Regions from separate parts of the Homo sapiens genome. Here all the other regions are linked to region 4. Evidence: promoter capture Hi-C in 16 types of primary human blood cells and fetal thymus (Javierre and others, 2016). All regions are on one chromosome and are shown on one strand. The core of a region is centred on a gene start or on the middle of the fragment in contact, and the rest is flanking DNA. Distances in the headings are between cores, read along the strand shown. Region 1 overlaps NARS2 (asparaginyl-tRNA synthetase 2, mitochondrial). Region 2 overlaps GAB2 (GRB2 associated binding protein 2). Region 3 has its middle 2.4 kb from the start of LINC02728. Region 4 holds the start of ALG8 (ALG8 alpha-1,3-glucosyltransferase).

Region 1 (3,293 bases), core at 527-3,026, 310 kb after region 4:
GGCTTTTATTTATCTGGAATATCTGCAACTGCACAGTTATAGTTGTGTAACTGGAAGTTTCTAAACCTTTTGAGTCACCTAAAAAATGTTTTTTTTTTTTTTTTTTTTGAGTTGGAGTCTTGCTCTGTCACCCAGGCTGGAGTGCAGTGGTGCGATCTCGGCTCACTGCAAACTCCACCTCCCCGGTTCATGCTATTCTCCTGCCTCAGCCTCCCGAGTAGCTGGGACTACAGGCACCTGCCACCATGCCCGGCTAATTTTTTTGTATTTTTAGTAGAGACAGGGTTTCACCACGTTAGCCAGGATGGTCTCGGATCTCCTGACCTCGTGATCCGCCTGCCTCAGCCTCCCAAAGTGCTGGGATTACAGGCGTGAGCCACCGCGCCTGGCCAAGTCACCTTAAAAACCTTATACCATGGTAGGATAGCTACGTTAAAAAAAAAAATTTTTTTTTCTCCCAAACTTGCCTTCCTAATTTCCAGTGTACCTAACTGGTTATACACAACTATTGCTGCACTTAGTATAAAATTAAGGTGAAAGTTGTTGTATTAGTCAGGATAGGCTAGGCTAAGCTATAGTCACAAACAACCCCAGAAGCTTACAACCAGGTTTCTCAATCTCAACATTAATAACATTTTTAACTAGATACTTCTTTGTTGTGGAGGCCTCAACTGTGCACTGTGGGATATTGAGAAGCATAACTAGCCTCTACCCACTATAGGCCAGTTATACTCCCCTTGTTGTAACAACCAAAAACATTTCCAGACATTACAAATGTTCCTTGGTGAAGAAAGAGGGGAACATAATAATCCCTGGTTGAGAACCACTAGTTTAAAACAATGAAAGGCCTTTTAAAAACACAGGCCACATGTCCACCCTGGTCTAAAACTGATAGAATAATCTCTTTCTAGGGTACTGTTGGTCTTGGGGCAGATGGGAAAAAGATCATGTATGACTATGTACTAAAAGCATTTGTACAGAAGCAACGTATGTATGTCACTTCTCACATTCCTCGACCAATGCAAGTCATATGACTCAGGTCACATTAATGGGACGGGGAAGCATAATTCCCACTGAGGGAGAAGCACAAACTATATGTGCACATAAAACAGTTTTCCATGTTGCTTTTTCCTCATCTACGTGGACTCTTAAACTTCCACCCTCCCAAACAATCCTTCAATGTTAATTAGAATTAAAGGAAGAACAGTAGTTCTCCTATTTTCTTCCTCTGTACTCTGGGAGATAAACGAATCAGTATGGAAGAACTTACCAAAATAGGCTATTTTCACGGGATAAAAATTTTAGAAGACATCTGGATACAGTCCCACACCACTACTATATCTTTACTTGGTACTAATTTAATGGTATGCAGGAGGAACACATATCATCTTTGTTCTTTCTTTGCCTACATGGTCTGAAAATTCACATTCTCTCCAGTGGTCAGTCTCCTACATGTTTCCTTGACAAGAGTGCAAAGTTGCTTCCCCTCTTAAGATACCTGTATCTTTTGAGCAAAGCATTCCTTTACAATGTCTCATAATTATTTCAGGACCAAATGGTACTATTTCTTTTTCAACAAGGTCAGGTGAACCTCTGAAGAAAAGCCCACAAAAGCCTTGTCTTTTTTTTTTTTTTTTTTTTTTTCCTGAGACTGAGTCTCACTGTGTCGCCCAGGCTGGAATGCAGTGGTGTGATCTCAGCTCACTGCAACCTCCGCTTCTCAGGTTCAAGTGATTCTCCTGCCTCAGCCTCCCGAGTAGCTGGTATTACAGATGCATGCCACCACGCCTGGCTAATTTTTATACCTAATTTTTGTAGTAGAGATGGGGTTTCACCATGTTGGGCAGGCAGGCCTCTAACTCCTGACCTCAAGTGATCTGCCCACCTGGGCCTCCAAAGTGCTGGGATTACAGGCGTGAGCCACTGTGCCCAGCCCTTGTTGTCTTTTCTTCCTCCATGTAACATTCTTCTTTTCTCTTTTACTTCAGGTTTAGGTTCCCTTCCACCGTATCAGATTCTAATACTTCCTGTTTTTCTTTTATAACTATATCCTCCTACCTAGCTAAAGATTCTGCACACTCTCTGAGAAGTTATAATACAGCAGAGTATTCTTCAATTACAAATAAAGACACATTTTGAATACACAGAGTGTACTTTCTTCTGGTATATCAAAAATACTGCATTCTCTAAAGATCACTAGAACAATTCCCTCAAATTTTCACACTCTTTAGTTAGGATTGAAATTCCAGGTAGAATTCTTCTACCTTGTATCTCCCCCTGATAACAACTGGGCTAGTTACTAGAAAAACTACCTCTTTCTCCTGGGTTCTCCTAGAGATAAAAGGTACATAAAGATATAATACAAACACACAGGCAATTACACAAATTTCTTGGAGAAGTAATGACAAAAACTTGATTGTGTGTTTCACAAGTTATTGGGAGCCGGTTAAGAGTGCAGGCAGGTTGGAAACAAGAAAGTTGGCATTTGCGGGTGATGACAACTTGCCTTTATGGGCAGGCAGGTCTGTGGTTTATGGGAGGCTGAGACTGGCTTATAGAGCCAAGGACAATAAAGACAGGAGGAATTAACTTTGATTAGGGAAAGTGGGGAAGGTTCATGAATAAATAAAAAGTGCTACAGCAGAGATTAGATTTTATCATAGCTAACCATAAAGCATTAGGTGCTACAAGAAAAATACAGATAAAGTACCACAAATAATCATATAGACCATGGTCACTATCAAAAGCTCAGATATTGATTGTCTACTAATGGCTCTTCCAGCCAATTCCAGTGTGCTTTTAGAGTACTGCAAAGGTGACTCTGAAATTGAGCAACCGTCAATACCCATTTTCTGCCCATTTGGCTGTTGCATGCCAGGCTCTCCAAATAGCCGGACTCTAGAGCACATCTTAAGCAAGCTGGAGCACATCACCTTTGCCCTGGGAAATGAGCTGCAAGCTTTTGAACTTCCTGTTACGAAGTATCCATATCTTTTAGTTAGATGACCAAACACATACTTATTTATGAGTTTCAACTATGATTCTTTTTTTAAATTTTTCAATTTTTTTTTTAAATTTTTTTGAGATGGAGTCTCACTCTGTTGCCAGGCTGGAGTGTAGTGGTGCGATCTCACTCACTGCAACCTCTGCCTCCCAGGTTCAAGAGATTTTCCTGCCTCAGCCTCCCGAGTAGCTGGGACTACAGGAGCTCGCCACCATGCTCAGCTAATTTTTTATATTTTTAGTAGAGAAGGGATTTCACCATGTTGGCCAGGCTGGTCTCGATCTCTTGA
Region 2 (3,181 bases), core at 219-2,718, 270 kb after region 4:
AAAGTAAATTGATGGAAAAGATGTATCATGTGAATATCAATAAAAGGAAAGCAAGAATAACTATATCATCAGATATAGGCTATAATATATCAAGTAGCCCTCAGATACTTGTATAATATATCAGATAACAAGTAGACCTCAGAGCAAAAGAAATTACCAGAGACTCAGCAGGTATTATATAAAGATAAAAGGGTCATGCCACCAAGAAGATGTTGCAATTCTAAATGTGTATATATTGAACAACAGGGCTGGGTGCGGTGGCTCATGTCTGTAATCCCAGCACTTTGGGAGGCCGAGGCAGGCGGATGACCTGAGGTCAGGAGTTCGAGACCAGTCTGGCCAACATGGAGAAACCCTGTCTCTATTAAAAATACAAAATTAGCCGGGTGTGGTGGCGCATGCCTGTAATCCCAACTACTTGGGAGGCTGAGGCAGGAGAATTGCTTGCACCCAGGAGGTGGAGGTTGCGGAGAGCTGAGATCATGCTATTGCACCTCCAGCCTGGGCAACAACAGCGGAACTCCATCTCCAAAAAAATAATAAAAAAAATAAAATATGTGAAACAAAAACAGATATAAGTGAAATGAGAAACAGAAATATTCACAATTATAGTTGGAAACTTCAACCCCTGTCTCTCAACAATCGACAGAAGAACTAGATAGAAAAATCAGCAAGGATATAAAAGAATTATATATATCACTATCAATCAAAAAGATATAATTGACATTTATGGAATACTTTACCCAATAATAGCAGAATAAACATTCTTTTCAAAGTACCCATGGAACCTAAAGCAAGATAGACCACATTTTCAGCAATAAAATAAACCTTGACAAGTTAAAAATAATTGAAATCAAATAGAACTTACTCTACTCCCACAATGAATTCCAACTAAAAGACAGAAACAGAAAAATAATGGGAAAATCTCCAAACATTTGGAAACTAAACAATGTACTTGTAAATAATCCATGGTCAAAGAGGAAAGTCTCAAGGAAAGTAAAAAAAATATATATATACTGAGCAAATAAAAATTGAAAATGCAATTTATCAAAATTAGTGGGACACAGCTAAAGCAGTGCTGAGAGGGAAATTCATAGCAGTAAATGAATACATTAAATAAGAGGAAAAGTCTCAAATGAATAAACTACTATATAAAAAAATCAGAGGCCAGGTGCAGCGGCTCATGCCTGTAATTGCAGCACTTTGGGAGGCCAAAGCAGGCAGATCACTTAAGGTCAGGAGTTTGAGACCAGCCTGGCCAATATGGTGAAACCCTGTCTCTACTAAAAATACAAAAATCAGCTGGGCATTGTGGCACATGCCTGCAATCCCAGCTGCTCGGGAGGCTGAGGCAGGAGAACTGCTGGAACCTGGGAGGTGGAGGTTGTAGTGAGCTGAGATCGTGCCATTGCACTCCACCCCAGGTGACAGAGTGACATGCTGTCTCAAAAAACAAACAAAAAATAATAATGAAGCAATGTCAGTATGCAAGAATAAGGGTTAAAAAAATAAAGCAGTGGACCCACTACAGACCCTGCAGACACTGAAAGCATAATACAGGATACTGTAACTCCACTCACATGTATGTAACAACTTAGACAAAATGGACCAATTTGTTGAAAAATGTAAACTTCTATAATTCAGCCAATATGAAGTAGATAATTTGAAGAACCCCGTATCTATTAAAGAAATTGGATTAAAAATGTAAAAAATTCCTAACAAAGACATTTCCAGATCCAGATGGTTTAATCTGGAGAATTCTACCAAAGGTTTAAAGAATTATACCAGTTCTACACCATCTCTTCCAGAAGGCTAGACATGGTGGTTCACACCTATAATCGCAGCACTCTGGGAAGCCAAGGTGGGAGGACTGCTTAAGCTCCGGAGTGTGAGACCAGCCTGGGCAACGCAGGGAGACCCTGTCTCTACAAATAATAAAAAAAAAAATTAGCCAGGCACAGCAGTACGCAGCTGTCGTCCCAATTACTTGGGAGGCTGAGACAGTAGGATCACCTGAGCCCAGGAATTTGAGGCTGCAGTGAGCCATGATTGTGCCACTGTCGCCAGCCTGTGTGACACAGCAAGATTCTGGTGGGGGTGGTTGGGGGGGGGGATGGTGGAAGGAGAAGAAAATAAACGAAGGAAGAAAGACATATATAAATAAATGTAAAATAAATTCATGGACTGGAAGATTTAATATAGTAAAGCTGTAATTTCTTCCCAAATTGGTACACAGGATTAATGCACTTCCTATTAAAATCTCAGCAAGACTTTCTTTTTTTTGCATAAACAAGATTATTCTAAAATTTGTATTGAAAGGTAAAGATAATAGAATAGCTAAAACACTTTGAAAAATAAGAATAAAGTAGAGGAATCAGGCTACCAGATTTCAAGACTTACAATATAGCTAGAGTTGGCAAGATTCTATGGTATTTGCAGAGGGACAGACACATGGAAAAATGGACCAAAACAGAGACAACAGAAACAGACCCACACAAATACGTCCAACTGATTTTTGACAAAGACGGAAAAGCAATTCAATGGAAGTAGGATGGCTTTGTCAACAACAATGACAACAACAAAAGAACCTCAATCTAAGTCTCACATCTTACATGAAAATTAACTCACAGTGGATCACGGACTTAAAGGAAAAACATAAACCTGTAAAATGTGTAGAAAAAAAAAAACCAGGAAAGCCGGCGCAGTGGCTCACGCCTGTAATCCCAGCACTTTGGGAGGCCAAGGTGGGCGGATCACGAGGTCAAGAGATTGAGACCATCCTGGCCAACATGGTGAAACCCTGTCTCTACTAAAAATACAAAAATGAGCTGGGCATGGTGGCGCACACCTGTAGTCCCAGCTACTCAGGAGGCTGAGGCAGGAGAATCGCTTGAACCTGGGAGGCAGAGGTTGCAGTGAGCCAAGACTGTGCCACCGCACTCCAGCCTGGGTGACAGAGTGAGAATCTGTCTAAAAACAACAACAACAACAACAACAACAACAAAGAGAATCACTTGAACCTGGGGAGCCGAGATCATGCCATTGCACTCCAGCCTGGGTAACAAGAGCAAAACTCCATCTCAAAAAAAAAAAACCTATATATAAAATACTCAAATTCTTGAAGACATTTGACCAAAGAGGATATACAGATGGCAAATAATCATATGAAAAGATGTTCAAC
Region 3 (2,974 bases), core at 208-2,707, 290 kb after region 4:
GTGAGTTCCTATTCAGTGAAGCTACAATAGGTAAATTACTAGGAATCAGGAGAAATACAGAGGGGAGTAGTTCATATATCATAAACGGGAAGAATTATCTTCTTTCCAAGATTTTTCAAAACTAGGTTCCTAGGAAAATGGCAAACCAGCAATTCTTATTGAGCTAGTGTGTAGAGAAAGTTATGAATCAAAGAATCACAGTTGTAGATGGCTCAGGTTCGGCAAAATACAGTTCCAGCTGTGTACATGGGCACCTGTTGCAGAAAAAAAACCTTTGTTACACAGGCTCACCATGTATCTATTTTCAGATTATTACCTTGAAAAATCAAAGGTCTGTGACTTCGAGGAAGATATTAATAATTCCTATCAAAGTTTCTTTCATGTATCTTTCTATCCACAATTCAAAGATGATCCTAAAAGGAAGGTGGCAAATGTGAGTATAAACTGATAACAAATTGAGGCACAATGAGCTTAAGTACATTGCTGGGTCTAGGATCCTTTACCCCATTTTTAGTGTTTCTCTTTACTCCAATGTATTTGAGATCAAACATCATCTTCCTTCACATTCTCCTGTCCCTTCACCCTGGGTAGAACAAGGTCAAGGTGAGTATTTTGCGACACATTCAGTAAACTCTGGGGCTTAAGATGCAAGATTCTTTGGTTATTAGGTTTTATGTTTTTTGGTTTCTCTGGAAGCTGAGGGCAGTGAATTTTATTTGCAGTCTTTCTCTCAGTATTAGGAACTTTCGATTTTTTTTTTTTTTTTTTTTGAGACAGAGTCTCGCTCTTTTGCCTAGGCTGGAGTGCAGTGGTGTGATCTCGGCTGACTGCAAGTTCCGCCTCCCGGGTTCATGCCATTCTCCTGCCTCAGCCTCCTGAGTAAGCTGGGACTACAGGCGCCTGCCACCACACCCGGCTAATTTTTTTTTTTTTTTTTTTTTTTTTTTTTTTGTAGAGACAGGGTTTCACCGTGTTAGCCAGGATGGTCTCAATCTCCTGACCTTGTGATCTGCCGGCCTTGGCCTCCCAAAAGGAACTTTGAATTTTTATAACAAATAAACCAAATAAATTTCATGACCAGTAAGATACAAAGGAACAAAGTCCACAATGTATTGTCTTGATAACTAAGAAAATAAGATACATGAAACATGTTTGTGAACTGTAAAGCAATGCCTAAATAATAGTCATGTTATTAGTAACAATTATGAACAGTAAAGGTATAGCAGAAAATTTTTGAAAAGTCATGAGCTATGTTAATTCAATGACCAGCTGCCTGAATGACAGTTTAAAAACCACCTAAACTCCTGGTGTCTTCTTTATAAAGGTCCCCCAGAAACTATCCAGTGTGCTGATAATGGCTAGAAATTCGCTGGACTCCATTTATGGTAATGCTGGGTCCAAACTGCACAACAGCTAACTGGAGCCTTAGTTGATCACAGGCCAATCTAGGGCTCCTGGCAACAGTAGAATGTCCAAGTTCAGGGAGGGATGCTGACCATGACTTAAAATACTTTCTTACAAAAGCCATACTAAATCATTTCAATACAGTGATTAAGGTTGCTTTGGGCCCTTTTCTTTTTCTTTTTTTTTTTTTTTGAGATGGAGTCTTGCTCTGCTGCCCCCCGCTGGAGTGCAATGGCACCATCTCGGCTCACTGAAACCTCCGCCTCCCAAGTTCCAGCAATTCTCCTGCCTCAGCCTCCCAAGGAGCTGGGATTACAGGAGCCTACCACCACAGCTAGCTAATTTTTGTATTTTTAGTAGAGATGGGTTTCATCATGTTAGTCAGGCTGGTCTCGAACTCCTGACCTCAGGTGATCCGCCTGTCTTGGCCTCCCAAAGTGCTGGGGTTACAGGTATGAGCCACCGTGCCCGGCCCGCTTTCTGCCCTTTTCTTAACGCTTTTACTATCTTTTAATTCTGAAGATTAACTGGGGAGAAATTATAATCAGATGTTACTCTCACCTGTTTTTTTAATTATACATAGATTGCAGACTGAATACAAATATTGATCAGAAGCCAAAACACCCCACACATTACTTATCAATCAACCCAGGCCAATCTGTCTTTCAACTGTACATTTTTGTGTTCTTGCCTCACCACTTAGTAAAATAAACATAAGAATAAATAGCAATCCAATCCAAATAAGCATCTCTCATCTATAATTATCTGAAGCAACGGATTTAAAGATGGGTAGAGTTAATCCACCTCACCAAGTACATCTTCAATGCCTGTTCAGTCATGCTTCAATGTCTACATTCAATTTATAGAGAATATGAATATATAACATTGTAGAGGGAGGCTTCTGGCAGATCCAGTCTGACAAGAACAAAAGGTCAAATAGTTCTTTTGCTATTCTGTGACAGTTGAAGAGTCTCTGGGTTGGAGAGTTATGTCTAGATCTGGAATGGATCACTCACACAATTAAGTTCTTGTCAGACCTAAAAACATGACAGCACAACTTTCCCCAGGCAAAAGGACAGCCAGATGGAAAGCAACTATTTTTCTCAACCTATCTCAAAATTTGAAATAAGAATGAGAATAATGGAAAAAACCTTTCTAAGTTTTAGAATATACTTCTACTTTGGTTGCTGGGGTTCTTATTTTCAGGTGGCATTTGGAAATCTTAGGAAAACATAATCTGATTTCTTTCCTCATTGGAAATGGGTTGCTCAAGTGAAAAACTAACCCTCTTATCACCTTTTAACTCAGAAACTGAGCACTAAAAGCTATTATGGTGTAGACAGTACTCAACTATTGAATCCATACGTTTATTCATTATACACTGACTTATACAACACTGTTTGCAATGTAGAATTTAGATATTCATATCTCAGCTGATGAGTAAACATTTTGAGTTTTTTCCTGCTGATGCTGCCTGCAAGCAACAGTTCAGTTTTGGCATTTTCATCATCTTTGTCTGACTTGAATTTTTGTTTTTGTTCAATTATTGGCAAAATAGAAGTATTGCACC
Region 4 (2,878 bases), core at 323-2,822:
TAACAACTCTGGCCAGGCACGGTGGCTCATGCCTGTAATCCCAACATTATGGGAGGCCGAGGCAGGTGGATCACTTGAGGTCAGGAGATTTGAGATCAGCCCTCCGCCATCATGGTGAAACCCCATCTCTACTAAAAATACAAAAATTAGCCTGGCGCGGTGGTGCAAGCCTGTAATCCCAGCTACTCCGGAGGCTGAGGCAGGAGAATCGTTTGAACCCGGGAGGCAGAGGTTGCAGTAAGCTGAGATCGTGCCACTGTACTCCAGCCTGGGTGACAGAGTGGGACGAGACTGTCTCAAAAAAAAAAAAAATAACAAACAAAAAAAACAACTCTGAGGATACATTTCTAGCCTGAGGCAACTAAAGCAAGAAATAATCTTATGCACAGACCTACAGTTAATCATTTTACTGAATCTACATATACATTCCACTTACATGATTACATATACGCATCAGTATGGACTTACATTCTATACATATGACTCTCCCATATTCAACAAGAGATCACCAAGAGCCTGAATCAAAGGATACCAATAAAACAAACCCTAAACTAGGAAGTGGGAGGGAAAGGAGAAAAGGGATGAGGGAGAAAAAGAAAAAAGAGGAAGGATGAAGGGAAGGCGGAAGCCAATATTAATAAATACTGAGTACCTACTGTATACACACCACCATTTCATGGTTGCTTCTTGGTTTCCACGCTTTCAGTCTTGGCCCTACATCCATTTTTTACACAGCAGTCTAACTGTGGTCTTCGAAACCCTGTGTTATCTGTCCCCAGTGCACCCCATGCTGTGCCACTCCTCTCCCTCAATGCTCTGCAGCCACAAGGGGCACTTTCTGTTCCTAGAATGCTCTGACTTCTTTCCTGCCACAGGGCCTTTGAACTTACTCTTTCCTATGCCTGAACTGCTTTCCACATCACTTATTCTTTTTCATTTTTTGAATTTCAACTCAAACATCACCTTCTAAAGGAATAGCGCACAGCCACTTAGTAACCCTCTATTTCCTTTATCACAATCTGAAAAGTTCCTGTTTGTCTAGCTCCACCCACCAACTTCGAGGGCAAGGACCAGCAATGTCTTGCTCACCACCGCATCTCCCGGGAGTTAGAACGGTACCTGGCACCTCAGGCATCTGATAATACTGGCTGAATGGCTGTTGGAGGCAGAGGTTCTTAACTGCCTATTAAGGATGAGGACCCTGAGGTTCAGAAACGTTAAAGTGATTTGTTCCAAATCAGACAGCGCCAGGTCTGAACCTAGCCAGCTGGGGCTAAGTCAAGTAACAACTGGCGAAACAGAAAGCTTAGCAAAGGCAGGATAGCGACAAACACGACCTAAAGTTTTCTCTTCATACCCAGGGATATCCACACCTTTCTCTCCCGCCCTGACCGACCGCGGGGCCTCCCCGCCCAGCCCCTGGCCGTGCGAGTCCCTTACTATGTGGGGATGAGAAGGCATTTGAGAAGAGTCACCCCGAGCGCCAAAGCCGAAAACCAATTGCCAGTACCCGTGGCAATTGTGAGCGCCGCCATTGCTGCGGCACCGCACGCTTCCCACCAACTTGATCCACATCCGGGATCCCGCGCATGCGGAGAAAGCCCTCTGAAGCCGTGCCCGCTAGCTGCGCGCATGCGGCGAGCGGCGCAGCCAGTCCGGGGACTGCAGTCAGCTATTTAAACCTCCCGCCCACCTTTTCTTTAGACCCGCGTCTCACCCCGGGCCGGAAGGGCTCCTGCGCAGGCGTTTGTAGCCACTTTTAAGTTTTATCAGCTAGTTCATGCTTGCGTTGAAAGAGTGGTCGTTTGCGCTGGGTCATCACTGTGTAGTATTGGGGATACTTAGGTGAGAAAAAAACTTAACGCTAGAGACGTTCACGCACTAGTGGAGAAGCCAGGATTGTTGCCCTAGAGTTACAGTAGATAAAAGTACCTCAGAGAACTGCGGGGGCTCCCAACCTGGACGCTTGCACCGGAGTATTAAATCCAGCTAGAGAATGGCATGTGCAAAGATACAGAGGTGAGAAACATTGTGTTTTTAGAACTCTGAGCGAGGCTCTTGGCTCACCTCCTGCTTGAGCGGAACCCATTCTGGAAGCAGGGTAGAGGCTAGTCCTAACGCTTAGTGTACAAATAGCCTACGGTTCATGTTAAAATAATTCGGATTCTGATTCAGTAGGCCCAACAAACTCGCAGATTGCGTAATGACTGAGGCACATGCAATTTAATTAGGCTTGTCTCATTATTTTACTGTATGATCTTGGACAAACTAAACTCTAAACCTCAGTTTCTTTTTTTAAAATTTTTATTTATTTATTTATTTTTGAAAATAGGAGATAAAAATGGTTTCTGGCCGGACGCGGTGGCTCACGCCTGTAATCCCAACACTGGGAGGCCGAGGTGGGCGAATCACCTGAGTTCAGGAGTTTGAGATCAGCCTGGCCAATATGGTGAAACCCTGTCTCTACTAAAAATTAAAAAAAAATTAGCCGTGCATGGTGGCGGGCGCTTGTAATTCCACCTACTCGGGAGGCTGAAGCTAGAGAATCGCGTGAACGTGGGAGGCGGAGGTTGCAGTGAGCTGAGATCGCGCCATTGCACTTCAGCCTGGGCAAGCCTCAGGCCTGTTTATCCAAGATGCTTTTGGTCTAAAAAAAAAAAAGTTTCAGCCTCATAAACTGGTTGTGAGGATTAAATGAGAATGCATGTAAATTGCTTGATATGATTCCAGGACAGAATAAATGCTCAATAATGTGTCAGATCAGTTAATTATCTTGCTGAAAGATGCACAGCAAGTAGGTGACAGTGTCACCTCCCTAATATGAGTTTATGCCCTCCCACAGCTTCAGCTGCCACCCATGTGAATATGATTCACAGAT

What was found. Contacts are between HindIII fragments. The CHiCAGO score rates a contact against its expected background, and 5 or more counts as called.
Region 1: a fragment that was not itself captured here is called in contact with the fragment with the promoter of ALG8 in region 4 in 1 of 17 cell types (naive CD4 T cells); the score reaches 5.6 in naive CD4 T cells.
Region 2: a fragment that was not itself captured here is called in contact with the fragment with the promoter of ALG8 in region 4 in 5 of 17 cell types (non-activated CD4 T cells, activated CD4 T cells, fetal thymus and 2 more); the score reaches 10.6 in non-activated CD4 T cells.
Region 3: a contact is called between a fragment that was not itself captured here and the fragment with the promoter of ALG8 in region 4, in 6 of 17 cell types (activated CD4 T cells, megakaryocytes, fetal thymus and 3 more). The highest score is 8.7, in activated CD4 T cells.

The regions. Positions count from the first base shown.
Region 1 is chr11:78,449,046-78,452,338 of GRCh38, forward strand. The region is part of intron 11 of NARS2 (asparaginyl-tRNA synthetase 2, mitochondrial); the gene reads right to left. Among named protein-coding and RNA genes, the nearest start is that of LINC02728, 21 kb to the left of the region's middle. The HindIII fragment of the contact is 2,362 bases long and covers 596-2,957 here.
Region 2 is chr11:78,409,057-78,412,237 of GRCh38, forward strand. All of the region lies in intron 1 of GAB2 (GRB2 associated binding protein 2), which reads right to left. Among named protein-coding and RNA genes, the nearest start is that of GAB2, 7.2 kb to the right of the region's middle. The HindIII fragment of the contact is 9,698 bases long and covers 1-3,181 here.
Region 3 is chr11:78,430,782-78,433,755 of GRCh38, forward strand. No RefSeq gene overlaps it. Among named protein-coding and RNA genes, the nearest start is that of LINC02728, 2.4 kb to the left of the region's middle. The HindIII fragment of the contact is 4,611 bases long and covers 1-2,974 here.
Region 4 is chr11:78,138,054-78,140,931 of GRCh38, forward strand. It overlaps ALG8 (ALG8 alpha-1,3-glucosyltransferase), which reads right to left and starts at 1,573. Exons shown (of 13, transcript NM_024079.5): 1 at 1,441-1,573. The coding sequence starts at 1,535. It overlaps KCTD21-AS1 (KCTD21 antisense RNA 1), which reads left to right and starts at 1,740. Exons shown (of 3, transcript NR_102281.1): 1 at 1,740-2,019. RefSeq lists enhancers at 1,156-1,265, 1,346-1,425, 2,036-2,145, 2,306-2,878. The HindIII fragment of the contact is 5,506 bases long and covers 1,304-2,878 here.